Regions from separate parts of the Homo sapiens genome. Here region 2 is linked to region 1. The links are contacts of gene promoters, found by promoter capture Hi-C in blood cells and fetal thymus (Javierre and others, 2016). All regions are on one chromosome and are shown on one strand. The core of a region is centred on a gene start or on the middle of the fragment in contact, and the rest is flanking DNA. Distances in the headings are between cores, read along the strand shown. Region 1 holds the start of SPEM1 (spermatid maturation 1). Region 2 overlaps CLEC10A (C-type lectin domain containing 10A).

Region 1 (6,849 bases), core at 4,321-6,820:
TAGGCTGCAGCTGGCTCCCACCCTTGGCCCTGTTCACCCCCAGAGGTAGTCCACAATCATCACTGACCATAGTTGCCACGTTGATGCCAATGTTGACAAGAACGATGAGGCCCAGCAGCAGGAGTAAGATGTCCTCGGCATCGTGGGGGCTTTCTTGGTATTGATTGCAACATCTCACGGTGTTATGCCATAGCTGGTTTTCCATGGAGGGGGGGTCCTAGGGCCACCTGGGCCACCCCCCTCTGCCCCCCACCCCCGGCCCCAACCCACACTGCACTCATGCCAATCCCCGGAGATAACTACAAGCTGGTAAGGGAGCCAGGTCACAATGAGGTGAGCTAGCGAGAGTCACAATGTGGAGGTGGCAGCTTTTATCCATTCTGCTGGCCCCTTCTACCGCCATCTCCACCCTTGGCTCCTACTTGGTGGAGCCTGGTCCCCACATATCCCAGATCTCAGTCTGTTCCTCTATCTCCACGAGGTTTGCTTAACCCCACAGCTGGTTCCTGAGCTGAAGATAGGGTAGTTAGAGGCTGACACGGTCGTCACAGGGTTGAAGCATGCATCAGATATGTCCTGTTTCATTGTTCTTTTGAGACATTATGGCAACTTACATAGCCTGTTGGCGTGCCTTGCCCCATGGTTACTTTGGGGCCAGCATCTAGGGTGACTAGATGGGCGGGTGACACTGCGTCCCCTCAGGCATCACCCTGCTGTACCAGCCCCTCCCTACTCTGCCCATTTCCCTGTCAAAAGTCCTCTAGCTCCCATCTCTGCCCAATTCTTCCTGGCCAGACTCCAGCCCTAGGTGTTGGTGGTCCTTGAGCCCACCAGCCACTTCGTCACACTGACATCTGACTCACTGAGGTGGCTGCCTCTGCTGGGAACCAACCCCAGCCATGGTTTCTCCAACCTAACCACCTACACTCCCACCAACCCACCCTTACTCCAAGGTGAAAAACGGTTAAGCTACTACCTGAAGAAAACCCGAGCTGGGCGCGGTGGCTCATGCCTATAATCCCAGCACTTTGGGAGGCTGAGGTGGCTGGATCACCTGAGGTCAGGAGTTCCAACCTGGCCAACATAGTGAAACCCCGTCTGTATTAAAAATACAAAAATTAGCTGGGTGTGGTGATGCGCGCCTGTAGTCCCAGCTACTCGGGAGGCTGAGGCAGAAGAATCATTTGAACCCAGGAGGTGGAGGTTGCAGCAAGCTGAGCTCTCGCCATTGTACTCCAGCTTGGGTGACACATCGAGAATCTGTCTCCAAAAAAACAAGAAAGGAAGGAAGGAAGGAAGGAAGGAAGGAAGGAAGGAAGGAAGGAAGGAAGGAAGGAAGGAAGGAAACTTGCTGGGCGCAGTGGCTCACGCCTATAATCCCAGGCAGGTGGACCACCTGAGGTCAGGAGTTTGAGACCAGCCTGGCCAACATGGCGAAACCTCTACTAAAAACACAAAAATTAGCTGGGCATGTTGGTGGGCGCCTGTAATCCCAGCTACTTGGGAGGCTGAGGCAGGAGAATTGCTTGAACCTGAGAGGTGGAGGTTGCAGCGAGCCAAGATCGCGCCACAGAAGTCCGGCCTGGGTGACAGAGTGAGACTGTCTCAAAACAAACAAACAACCCAACAACAACAACAACAACAACAAGAAAACCACATGAAATTAACAAAGCACAAAATACATGTAATTGTTAATATACCAAAAAGAGTGTTTGACTTAAAACAGGTGCATCACTGGGGTCTGTGGTGCCCTGGAGACTGCAAGCCATTTGTTTACACAGTGAACCACTCAGCAGAAAGAAAGGCCAGTGATCATATCCCATCCAGCCTCCAAACACAGAGTAGATGCAGAGTAGATTCAGATTCCACTGAATGGAATCCATTGAAAATGATCAGTAACGTTAGTTGAATGAGAGAAGTAGGGCCATTTGTAAACGGTCCGTCTGCTCACATTCCAGGAATCTGTCTAGAGTGGAAGGTGAAGTCCAGCTCCCTCAGCCTGGGCTCACGCACACAGCTGCTTGTTCTCAAGTGGTATGTGTGTGCATGTGCATATGATCCCAATTGTGTAGCAGAAAGGCAGGGCCTGAGTTTCTCTGTTTCTCAGTTTCTGAGTTCACATGGTGAACTGGGGAAGGTGGGAGGTTCTGGTGGGTCAGGCTGGCTCTGCAGCAATGGGATGGAGCATCTGAGGCCATGAGCTTGATCCTCAGTGTCTGTGTAACCATGAGCAAGACCCTTAGCTTCTCTGAACTTAGTCTCCTCACTGGTGACATGGTGAGTTAATCAAAGGAGTGAGGTCACAGAGAGCTGTGATGTTACAGTGAGGTACCTCTTGAGGGGGGCCCCAATATTTCTCTTCTTTTTTTTTTTTTTTGAGATGGAGTCTCGCTCTGTTGCCCAGGCTGGAGTGTAGTGGTGCAATCTCGGCTCACTGCAAGCTCCGCCTCCTGGGTTCACACCATTCTCCTGCCTCAGCCTCCCAAGTAGCTGGGACTATAGGCGCCCACCACCACGCCCGGCTAATTTTTTGTTTTCATATTTTTAGTAGAGATGGGGTTTCACCATGTTAGCCAGGATGGTCTCAATCTCCTGACCTTGTGATCTGCCCGCCTCGGCCTCCCAAAATGCTGGGATTACAGATGTGAGCCACCACGCCCGGCCTTTTTTTTTTTTTTTGATGGAGTCTCGCTCTGTCGCCCAGGCTGGGGTGCAGGGGCGCCATCTTGGCTAACTGCAACCTCTGCCTCCCACGTTCACACCATTCTCCTGCCTCAGCCTCCCAAGTAGCTGGGACTACAGGCGCCCACCATCATGCCCAGCTAATTTTTTTATTTTTTATTTTTCATTTTTTAGTAGAGACGGGGTGTCACTGTGTTAGCCAAGAGGTCTCGACCTCCTGACCTCGTGATCCGCCCGCCTCGGCTTCCCAAAGTGCTGGGATTACAGGCGTTAGCCACTGCGCCCAGCCAAGGGGGCCCCAATATTTCCTCCTCTGCTCCAATCCTGCTTAAGGGTATAGGACCTTCAGGGTGACTGGGGAACTGTGAAGGACTAGACGCCCTCTCAGCCATCCCTCCCCAAATAAATCAGGGCTTACGTGGGAACCAGGCCTCACCGGTGGCTGCAGCCTAACGCTGGGCTCTGGCAGGCACCAGCCTTCTGAGGAGCTAGGGCCATGGAGATGGAGATCTCTCCTCTAGTGCACGACTGCCTGGGGACCTGGGGTAGAATTTAGGGGCTTCTCTGTGCACTAAAGAAAACAAGGAATTAACTGGGCGTGGTGGTGCCTGTTGTCCCAGCTACTCAGGAGGCTGAGGCAGGAAGACTGCTTGAGCTCAGGAGGTTGAGTCTCCAGTGAGCCATGATTGCACCACTGCCCTCCAGCCTGAGTGACAGATCAAGACCCTGCCTCAGGGGAGGGGGAGGAAACAGTCCGGGCACAGTGGCTCACACCTGTAATCCCAGAACTTTCAGAGGTTGAGGCAGGCAGATCGATTGAGCCCAGGAGTTTGAGACCAGCCTAGGCAAAGTAGTGAAACCCAATCTCTACAAAAAATAGTGGTGCGGCTGGGGTGGGGTGGCTCACACCTGTTATCCCAGCACTTTGGGAGGCTGAGGCGGGCGGATCACCTGAGGTCAGGAGTTCAAGACCAGCCTGGCCGACATGGCAAAACCCCATCTGCACTAAAAATACAAAAATTAGCAGGGCATGGTGGCACACGCCTGTAGTCCCAGCTACTCAGGAGGCTGAAGGCAGGAGAATTGGTTGAACCTGGGAGGCAGAGGTTGCAGTGAGCCAAGATTGTGCCATTGCAGTCCAGTGTGGGTGACAAGAATAGGACTCTGTCTTAAAAACAAAAACAACCCCCCCCACACAAAAACCAACCAACCGAACAAACAACAACAACAACAACAAACTAGTGGCCCATGCCTGTAGTCCTAGTGACTCAGGAGGCTGAGGTGGGAGACAGTTGGGACTGCAGTGAACTGTGATTGCACCACTGCACTCCAGCCCGGGCAACAGAGAAGACCCTGTCTCAAAAAAAAAAAAAAATTGAAAACAAGGTAGAGGCAGGTAAGAGCCTTGGAACCCAGAAGGGCCTAGGAAAGGCTGAGGACAGGGACAGGCCTGTGGGGCAAAAGGTTAATGAGGGTCCTCAGGGCTCAGGGCCCTGTGGCTAGGGAGAGCATTCTCTTCACAGCCACAGCTTCTAGGTGCTGTGTGGGCCCTGGCACCCCAGCACCACCACAGATCACCTCCTCTCTCCTTTTTATTTTTTTCCAGTCACCTCCCAGTTAGGGAACGGTACACCCAATTCTTGCTTGTCTCCTCGGCAGTGCTGGATCCAGAGGCTAGGGGGTAGCAGCCGGACAGGGCCTCCACCTCCCGGGTCAGTTCCCGAAGCCGCCGTCTCATGTCCCGGGCATCATACACTATTCGGCCTGAGGAGCGGTGCCGGGAAAATTCAGGGATGACTGCTGGGCCCAGGGTGGGAGCTGGGACAGGCTGGTACTGAGCCGCCTCTGCCTCTGGCACCGCCCCCTCCCCACCGTTCTTGTGGCTAGGAGCCTCAGGGCTGGGAGGTGGGGGGTTCACAGGATACACATAGGCCCTTAGGCCCAGCTCGGACCATATGCCTGTTTTGAGGGGCCTTTCCTCTACGGTAGGCTGGAAGCGGATGGTCTGGGGAGGGGACTCTGGGGCATCCTGAGACCAGGGAACCCAGGTCCCCTGAGTGTGTTGGAAGCCTTCCCAGTCCTCAGGGACATCCCAGTGGTAGGAGCAGATGGCTGGGTACTGATGAGGCTTCTCGTCATCAGTGTCAGGAGCCCAAGCTACTGGGCAGTGAGCACAGCGTGTGGGAGAGCCTCGACGGCGATGGCGGTGAGCTGGGGGCGGGGACACAGTCATCATCACAGGGTCCATGGTGCACCGAAGATGGACTGCAGGAGAACTCTGCTTCTTAGGGGGCTGGGTCTGCTTTCTGAGTAATGATGACTTGGGAGCTTCTGTGGATGGGGGAGAGGTGAGACTAGTGGGGAGGCCAGCTCCTACAGGCATGGAGAGGCAGGGCCCAGGAAGGGCAGCCACACAGCTATGTTGTCTGAGAGGGGCGAGCAAGAAGGGAAGGGGCTAATTTAGGGCTGAGGCTAGAGCACTTGGTTTCTGCCCCTCCTATGTCCCAGCCCCCAGACCTCTTACCTTTCTCACAAATGGTATCATGGAACACTTGGTATAAGACACCACGGAATCGGCTCCAGAGCTAGGTGGGGGAAGACACAGTGATCCCAGGTAGGCCCTGGCCGGCAGGCCTGCCCCCCACTATCCCACCAGCTCCCTCCCATCTGGCCCCACCCTGACCAGGGTCACTATATTGATGCTAATGTTAATGCAGATGATGAGGCCCAGCAGCAACAGGACAGAGTTGCCCAGGTCCTGGCAGCTGTTGCTGTTGCAGTTGTGATACGAGGCCCACTCGGGCCTCGGCCGCTCAACCATGGCCATGGGGTCCCTAGGACCACCGGGGCCCTTACGCCCCCAGCCCACCGTGCCGACAGTGTCCACTGACTGCCTGCCTGTCCCTGAGGGTCTTGGGAGTGAACGGGTCACAATGGTGCCAGGCCACTCCCTTCCAGTGTGCCAAGGGGCTACCCTGAGTCCTGGACCCGTGGCTGACCCTCTCGCCTGAGTCCAGGCCTTGGCAGAGGCCATGCCTCTCACCTCACATACCTCTGCTGAGCTAGCTGCCTACACCAGCCCACTGGGCCTCTGGCCTGTTTGACATCTGCCCCCATCAGCCTTTGTCCTTCCATTATAGAACGACACCAGGCTCCAGTCTCGGCATAGACACGGGTCCTGACATTCATTTGCCAAACAGACCCATTACCATGGCAACCAGACCCCAGCACACACTCCCCCTTCCTCTCAGACCTCAGAGCTGGTCACTGAAAAGACCCCTCCTCCCTCGTCACTTCCCCAGGGCTTGTTTCTTTAGAGACCGCCCTCCCCACAACAGAGCAGGCACAACCAACAGTTAAACTTTTATATTTACAATATTCTCTTCATCTTTTGCCAGGTTTAAAAATGTGTACAGAGCCGCAAAGGGTTGGGGTAGGGATAAGGGATTGTCGGGATTGTTTTGGGGAGAGGAGCTGGGCATTGGAGTCCGTGGCTGAATCATGGGGTCCCCCAGCCCCCCTCCCATGCCCCAATTCTGAGGGCATCTGTCTACAGGGTTCAGGGCCCAGGTCTCTAGCATTTGGAGGGCATGGCTGTTTGGAGAGGAGCTAGACCAGGCAGGGGAAAGGATCAGAAAATAACTAATTTTCCATGGATGGAGGTAGGAAGAGAAGGGACAGTCAAGAGGCAAAGTTCTGGGGACTCAAGACCAGGGATTCTGGATTTGGGTGTCAGTGGAAGACAGCACCCCAGCCCCTATTCAAGTTTGGCACTAACACCCCACAAAATGCCAGCAGATGAGGACTCTCCCCTCGTCCACTGTGTCCCTTAAGCCCTTCCAGACATCATTCTTTTCCCAAATGCCCAAGCCCAAGGCCCTCCGGGGAGTCACCTCACACATTTCAAATTATTCCTGCTGGTGTCTGCCCAAGCCCTGTCCCCACTGCCCCCTCCATCTGTTCCCCAGCACCGCTGACCTCATTCTCCCAACCTGTCCGGTGAGACCTTTCTCCCCACTGCCTCCCTCCACCATTCAAGGCTCCTTTCTTTCAGACAAGGAGGGGGCGTGGGTCAGAGGAGGGTGGTCAGCTGAGGAGAAGGCTGGTCTGACACTGAGATGGGGACAGCTTCAAAGAGGGGGACGGAGATGAAGGGGAACGGAGAAC
Region 2 (7,094 bases), core at 3,789-6,288, 350 kb after region 1:
CATCTGGGAGCTTCCAGAATGACTGTCATCTGTGCCACACCCTCAGAGATTTAATAGGCCTGAGCATCCAGAGAAACATCTCCAAACTCCTCAGTTGATTTAACGAAGAGCTAAAGTTGAGAATCACTAGTTTAAGGAGTTGGCTGGGATGGGAAGAAGTCACCACTGCCCTTCTGTCACCGCAGAATTTTGTCCAGAAATATCTAGGCTCCGCATACACCTGGATGGGCCTCAGTGACCCTGAAGGAGCCTGGAAGTGGGTGGATGGAACAGACTATGCGACCGGCTTCCAGTGAGTGCACCCTGGCTTTCTGTGCCAATGTCCTCCGTCAGCGTTTCCCCCAGGGATCTGACTGGCAGCCTCTCCTCCCCTGAACTGAATTCTACTCCATCTACCCTTCCTAGCTTGCTGTTGTCTTTTCCTCTCAGGAACTGGAAGCCAGGCCAGCCAGACGACTGGCAGGGGCACGGGCTGGGTGGAGGCGAGGACTGTGCTCACTTCCATCCAGACGGCAGGTGGAATGACGACGTCTGCCAGAGGCCCTACCACTGGGTCTGCGAGGCTGGCCTGGGTCAGACCAGCCAGGAGAGTCACTGAGCTGCCTTTGGTGGGACCACCCGGCCACAGAAATGGCGGTGGGAGGAGGACTCTTCTCACGACCTCCTCGCAAGACCGCTCTGGGAGAGAAATAAGCACTGGGAGATTGGAAGCACTGCTAACATTTTGAATTTTTTTCTCTTTAATTTTAAAAAGATGGTATAGTGTTCTTAAGCTTTTATTTTTTTTCCAACTTTTGAAAGTCAACTTCATGAAGGTATAATTTTTACATAATAAAAATGCACTCATTTAAAGAGTAGAGATGACTTTGACAAATATGCATGCCTAGGTGACTACCACTCCGATCGCAATAGATAACATTGCCATCGCCCCCACCAGTCCCCTCATGCCTCTGGGCAGTCCAACCACTTCCCTGTTTCCAGGCCAGTGATCTACTTCTTTTTCACTATTTATTGGCCTTGCCTCTTCTAGAGCTTCTAGAACTTCATATAAGTGAAATCATACACTCTCGTGTATATACTTCATATAAGTGAATATATACTCTCGTGAGAACTTACGTACTTTGTGTTGCTTGATTTTTGGCAATCTAAAAATGGCAGAGTGGAGAAGCCAGGTGAAGCCTTCGAAAGTCCTATGTGATTGAGAAAATAGCATTTTCTTCTCATATAGATTTGAGTTCAAATCTTTTCTGTCACTTAAAGATGGTATAAACTTAGGGTGATTAGGAAAAGCCATTGTTTAATTTCTCTGAAGATCCCAGAGTTGTTGGGAGATGTAGATAAGATCCCCAGGTGTATTGGTTAGCAATTGGTGTGTAACAAACCACCTCAAAGCTCAGGGCTTATACAGTAAGCATTTATTATAGCTCATGAGGCTATAGGTCTGGTCTGGCCAGGTTTGGGTCATCTTGGCTGGGCTTGTTTATGCGTCCGTGGTCAGCTGGTGGGTTGGCTTGGGGTTGGCTGGTCTAGGGTAGCCTTGCTCCCATGTCTCATATTTGGCTGGCTCTGGGCTGGGACAATGGGGATGACTGGGCCACATTAGCTTAGCCTGGCCTTGTTCACAGAATGGCTGGGTGGGGGTCCAAGAGAGAAATTGGAAGACTGCAAGGACTTCAGAGCCTTGCTTGGAACTGAAGCATCGTTTTTGCTGCATCCTATTGGCCAAAGCAGATTGCAAGGCTGCCCAGGTTCAAGGGCCAGAGAAATAGATTCCACATTTTGGTGGGGGGTTGGGGGGGGGTCTACAAAGTCATACTGTGTAGAGAATGGATATAGAGAGGGGTGGAGATTTCTGTTTTTTCAATCAATCCAGCATATACCAGGGAAGCATCTCAGCTATTTTGATTTTTTTTTTTTTTTTTTTTTTTGAGACGGGAATTTCCTTCTTGTTGCCCAGGCTGGAGTGCAATGGCGTCATCTCAGCTCACTGCAACCTCCGCCTCCCAGGTTCAAGTGATTCTCCTGCCTCAGCCTTCCGAGTAGCTGGGATTACAGGAGCCTGCCACCATGTCTGGCTACTTTTGTGTTTTAAGTAGAGATGGGGTTTCTCCAGGTTGGTCAGGCTGGTCTCCAACTCCCGACCTCAGGTGATCAGCCCGCCTCGGCCTCCCAAAGTGCTGGGATTACAGGCATGAGCCACCACACCCAGCTGCATTTCAGCTATTAAGAACCAACTTTTTAAGTTCATTAAGGGATGGCAGGACCCATTCATTGCTGTATTACTGTACCCAGAAAGCTCCCTGGCATATAGGAATGTCTGAATTAGCTGTCAGGATTTGCTGATGGGTTGTCTGAGGGGTTTGGGAAAATGAGAAAGTCAAGGATAATTCCAGGTTTGGGGCTTGAAAACCTAGAAGGATGGAGTCCCAGTTAATTAAGATGGGAAGACCGTGTGAGAAGCTGGTTTTGTGGGTGGGATGAGGAGATAAGAAGCTTTATTTTGAACATGTTGAGTTTGAGGAGCCTGTTAGACTTCCAAATGGAGTTTATTCTTTTTTATTTTTCTGTGTACCATAGTAAACATTTATAATTTTATTCAAAGGGTTTTTTTTTAATCAGTTCCAGCAAGATACAGGTGTCAAAACCAAAGGATTTATTTCTCTTTCTCTCTCTCTACATATATATATAGAGAGACAGGTTCTTGTTCTGTCACCCAGGCTAGAATGCAGTGGTGCGATCATAGCTCACTGCAGCCTTGAACTCCTGGACTCAAGCAATCCTCTCTTCTCAGCCTCCTGAGTAGCTGAGACTATAGATGTGTGCCCCCATGCCTGGCTAAGTTTATTTTTTGTAGAGATAGGGTCTCACTATGTTGCCCAGGGTGGTTTCAAACTCCTGGGCTCAAGCGATTGTCCTGCCTTGGCCTCCCAAACTGCTAGGATTACAGGTATGAGCTGCAGTGCTTGGCCACAAAAGGGTTTATTGAAAAGAGTTTAATGACATTTACAGAGTGTGAGCAGGGTTGAGGAAGCCAACAAAAGTTGGTGAAGTCCCTGTGGCTAAGAATAGCAGAGACATCACCACTCTGAAGCCTGAAGGCACAAAAGTAAAGAACATCCACCCAGATCATCCACCCAAGCAGCTCTGTGCCTCTCTCCCCTGGGTCTGAAAGATTTTGGATCATGGGAGAGAAGCCACCCAGCAGGAGCGTGAGATCACAGTTCTACCAGGGCCACAGAATGTAGAGGGGAGCAGGAGAACCAATACAAGTCAGTTCCCTCTAGAATTTCCTGACCTGGTAATTCTGCTACCTAAGAAAGCAAACAATTACATTCTCTAGTTTTGTACAGGTAACTGGACGGCGGAGGCAGGGAGGGCATTAGGGAAAATATGGAGAGGGCGACTTTGTGTTATAGGTGGAAATAACTGGGAAGATGGATCACAGATTGAACTAGTTATTGGAGGAGATTGAAATGATCTCTCCACTGACTTCCAGATTGGGTTGGACAGCCCCAAACCAATACAATCCCAGTTCCAGCCCCAACTGCAGTCCCAATGTCGGCTCTAAATTCATCCCTAAATTCAATCTCTGTCCCCACTGCAGCTCCAGCCTAGCTGTACTACACCCCCATGCTCCATCCCACATGTTTCCAATCTCAGCCCCAAACTCAGACCCAACTCCAAAGGAGCCCTGTCTACAATCTTAGCCTGAGACCCAATCTGATTTTTAGCCCCAAGTAAGTCAACCCCATCCTAACCCCAGATACAACCCCAATTGTGATCGCTGTTTCAACCTCACCTGCAAACCCAGCCCCCAGCCACATTCCTAGTTCTCACGCCTGGCTCAGCCACTATCGAATCCTCACTTCCTACCTCAAAACCAGCTCCACACCCACCTCCAGCCCTTATTTCAGGCTCCCCCTCGGAGCCCTTTCTCTGCCTCCATCTCAGCTCCTGCAGCCACAGAGACCACTTGGGCCAAGGATGTCAATGAAGTATGAAGATCTCAAGTGCTTAGAGAGTGAGAAGGAACATGATCTTAGAAAAGGTATGACAGGCCAGGTGCGGCGGCTCACGCCTGTAATCCCAGCACTTTGGGAGGCTGAGGTGGATGGATCACCTGAGGTCAGGAGTTCGAGACCAGCCTGGCCAACATGGCGAAACCCCGTCTCAACTAAAAATAAAAAATTGGGCCGGGTGCAGTGGCTCACACCTGTAATCCCAGCACTTTGGGAGGCTGAGGCAGGCGGATCGTGAGGTCAAGAGATCAAGACCATCCTGGCCAACATGGTGAAACCTGTCTCTACTAAAAAATACAAAAATTAGCTGGGCATGGTGGCGGGTGCCTGTAGTCCCAGCTACTTATTAGGCTGAGGCAGGATAATTGCTTGAACCTGGGAGGCGGAGGTTGCAGTGAGCCGAGATCGCGCCACTACACTCCAGCCTGGCAACAGAGCGAGACTCTGTCTCAAGAAAAAAAAAAAAAAGAAAAAGAAAAGGTAAGACAAGCAGAAGACCCCAGAGACAGGCCCACCCCTCAAAGTTTGCAGAGGCCTGAGCTAGTTCCTCTTGAGCTCACTTCCCTTTGCTCCCTTCCCTCAGCTCAGTCTTGCACCTTGAGGAGCCTGGGGGACACGTGAGGACACCTTCAGCATGGTCCACACCCTCCATTCACCCCCCCAACCTCTGCCCATGGCTACCACTTGAGCCTCAGGGTGGGCACACCAGGAGCAGGGTCTGCCACCCAGGGGACAGGCCCGGGGAAGACAGGTGTACAGCTGCCTGGGTGGACGATCTGGGCTCCCAGGTACCCAGAGGATGGTCTAGAAGGGCAGGTATGGCTTGGGGTGAGCACATCACCTTGGCCCTGGAGATTCCCAGTCCCACAGGAAGGGATGGAGTCACAGGAGGGCCAGTGAGGGCCCTCTAAAGTGTGAAGCCCAGGAGGTCTAGTCTAAGGATGGTGCCTCTCTCAGAGACAGTAACTCTTTCTTTCTTTCTTTCTTTCTTTCTTTCTTTCTTTCTTTCTTTCTTTCTTTCTTTCTTTCTTTTCTTTCTTTTCTTTCTTTTCTTTCCTTTCTTTTCTTTTCTTTCTTTCCTTCTTTTCTTCCTTTCCTTTCTTTTCTTTCTTTTCCTTCTTTCCTTCTTTCTTTTTTTTTTTTTTTTGATGGAGTTTTGCTCTTGTTGCCCAGGCTGGAATGCAATGATGTGATCTCGGCTCACTGCAGCTTCCACCTCCTGGGTTCAAGTGATTCTCCTGCCTCAGCCTCCTGAGTAGCTGGGATTACAGGTATGCGCCACCATGCCTGGCTAATTTCATATTTTTAGTAGAGACGGGGTTTCTGCACGTTGGTCAGGCTGGTCTCGAACTCCCAACCTCAGGTGATCCTTGGCCTCCCAAAGTGCAGGGATTATAGGCGTGAGCCACCGCGCCCGGCCGACAATGCCTCTATCTGCAATGAGGGGTTTCTCATGTCTCCCCTGTGCTGTAGCTCCAGGGCTCCTGGTTTTGGTCATTTCTGTGACTCCAGTATGGACTGTGGAGATCCCCCTCTCTGAGGGTTCAGGGCCTGGCCTCTGTGGTCCTAGTCTTCAGGGGAGTTAGGGTCCTCAGTGGCACAGGGACAGGAAGCAGGAAAAACATGGGTTATTTAGGAAAGTCTTCAAAGGAAGACCATAATTTCACCTGCTTTCACAGATGAGCGTGAGCCTATGAAGGGCCTGGCTGCCCCCAGCTCTCCCTGTGTCCTTCTGCCCCTTCCTCAGCTCTGACCATGGGACCTCACATATCTCCATTATCCCCCATCTGTGTGTGTGTGTTTGGTGGTCCCCACGGGTGTGAGGGGCCTGTGTGACTGAGGACTTGTGCTGGTCCCTGAGGTCAAAGGCCTGGGCATCCCCCACCCTGAAATCCTTCCCATCCCGCCCTTTCCTGGTGTCCTTTATGCTCAGCCCTCCTCTCTAGACAGCTCCCTGGCCCCTCTCCTCTTCCCGTCTCTGTCATGTCCTGGACGCTCCTCGTCTTGACACCCCCTCCTCCTGAGGGCTGCCTCCTCCCCAGGCCCTCCTGCAGCATCTGCACTCTGGGACTGCCTCCTCCTGCTGTCCCTGTGCCTCGGCCTCCTGCTCCTGGTTGTCATCTGTGTGGTCCGATCCCAAAGTGAGGGTCACGGGGTGGACAGAGAAGACAGAAATAATGGGGTGTAGTGGTGTGGTGGTAATGGTGAGGTACAGGTTTAGTGATGGATGGTCAGAGAAAAAGTCTTTTTTTTGCAAGAAAAAATCTTGCAAAAGTGTTGGAGCAGTGGTGGGACAGTGATGTGGTTTGAATCTATCCCTGCTCAAACCTCATGTTCAGTTGCGATCCCCAATGCTGGAGGCCTGTTAGGAGATAAATGGATCATGGGAGCAGTTTCTCATGGTTTAACACCATCCCCCTTGGTACTTCTGTCATGGTAGTGAGTTCTCGTGAGATCTAGTTGTCTAAAAGTGTGTAGCACCTCCCTGCTCTCTTTTCCTCCTGCTTCGGCCATGTAAGATGTCATATTTCCCCTTTACCTTCCGCCATGATTGTAAGTTTCCTGAGGTGTCTCGAGAAGCCAAGCAGATGCCACCATCCTTGCTGTATAGCCTGCAGAACCGTGAACCAATTAAACCTCTTTTCTGTATAAATTACCCAGTCTCAGGTATTTCTTTATAGCAGTGTGAGAACAAACTAATAAAATGGTACCAAGATGTGGAGCATTGCCATAAAGATACCTGAAAATGTGGAAGTGACTTTGGAACTTGGTAATGGGCAGAGGTTGGAAAAGTGTGGAGGGCTCAGAAGAAGACAGGAAGGTGAGGGGAAGTTTGGAACTTTCTAGAGACTTGTTGAATGGTTGTGACCCAAATGCTGGTAGTGATATGGACAGAGATGGCCAGACCAATGAGGTCTCAGATGGAGATGAGAAACTTATTGTGAATAGGGACAAAGGTACTTTTTTTATACTTTGGCAAAAATTTTGGTTGGATTGTGCCCATGCCCTAGGGATCTATGGAACCTTGAACTTGAGAGAGATGATTTAAGGTATCTGGTGGAAGAAATTTCTAAG

The links. Contacts are between HindIII fragments. The CHiCAGO score rates a contact against its expected background, and 5 or more counts as called.
Region 2: a contact is called between a fragment that was not itself captured here and the fragment with the promoter of SPEM1 in region 1, in 1 of 17 cell types (monocytes). The highest score is 5.4, in monocytes.

The regions. Positions count from the first base shown.
Region 1 is chr17:7,419,045-7,425,893 of GRCh38, reverse strand. SPEM1 (spermatid maturation 1) reads right to left here and starts at 5,570. Exons shown (of 3, transcript NM_199339.3): 1 at 5,366-5,570; 2 at 5,207-5,267; 3 at 4,262-5,013. The coding sequence starts at 5,509. The coding sequence ends at 4,289. It overlaps NLGN2 (neuroligin 2), which reads right to left. Exons shown (of 7, transcript NM_020795.4): 7 at 6,034-6,849. SPEM2 (SPEM family member 2) reads right to left here and starts at 278. Exons shown (of 3, transcript NM_175734.5): 1 at 68-278. The coding sequence starts at 205. RefSeq lists an enhancer at 5,567-6,086. The HindIII fragment of the contact is 12,172 bases long and covers 1-6,849 here.
Region 2 is chr17:7,068,558-7,075,651 of GRCh38, reverse strand. It overlaps CLEC10A (C-type lectin domain containing 10A), which reads left to right. Exons shown (of 9, transcript NM_001330070.2): 8 at 186-292; 9 at 430-1,115. The coding sequence ends at 598. Among named protein-coding and RNA genes, the nearest start is that of CLEC10A, 8.1 kb to the left of the region's middle. The HindIII fragment of the contact is 5,086 bases long and covers 2,496-7,094 here.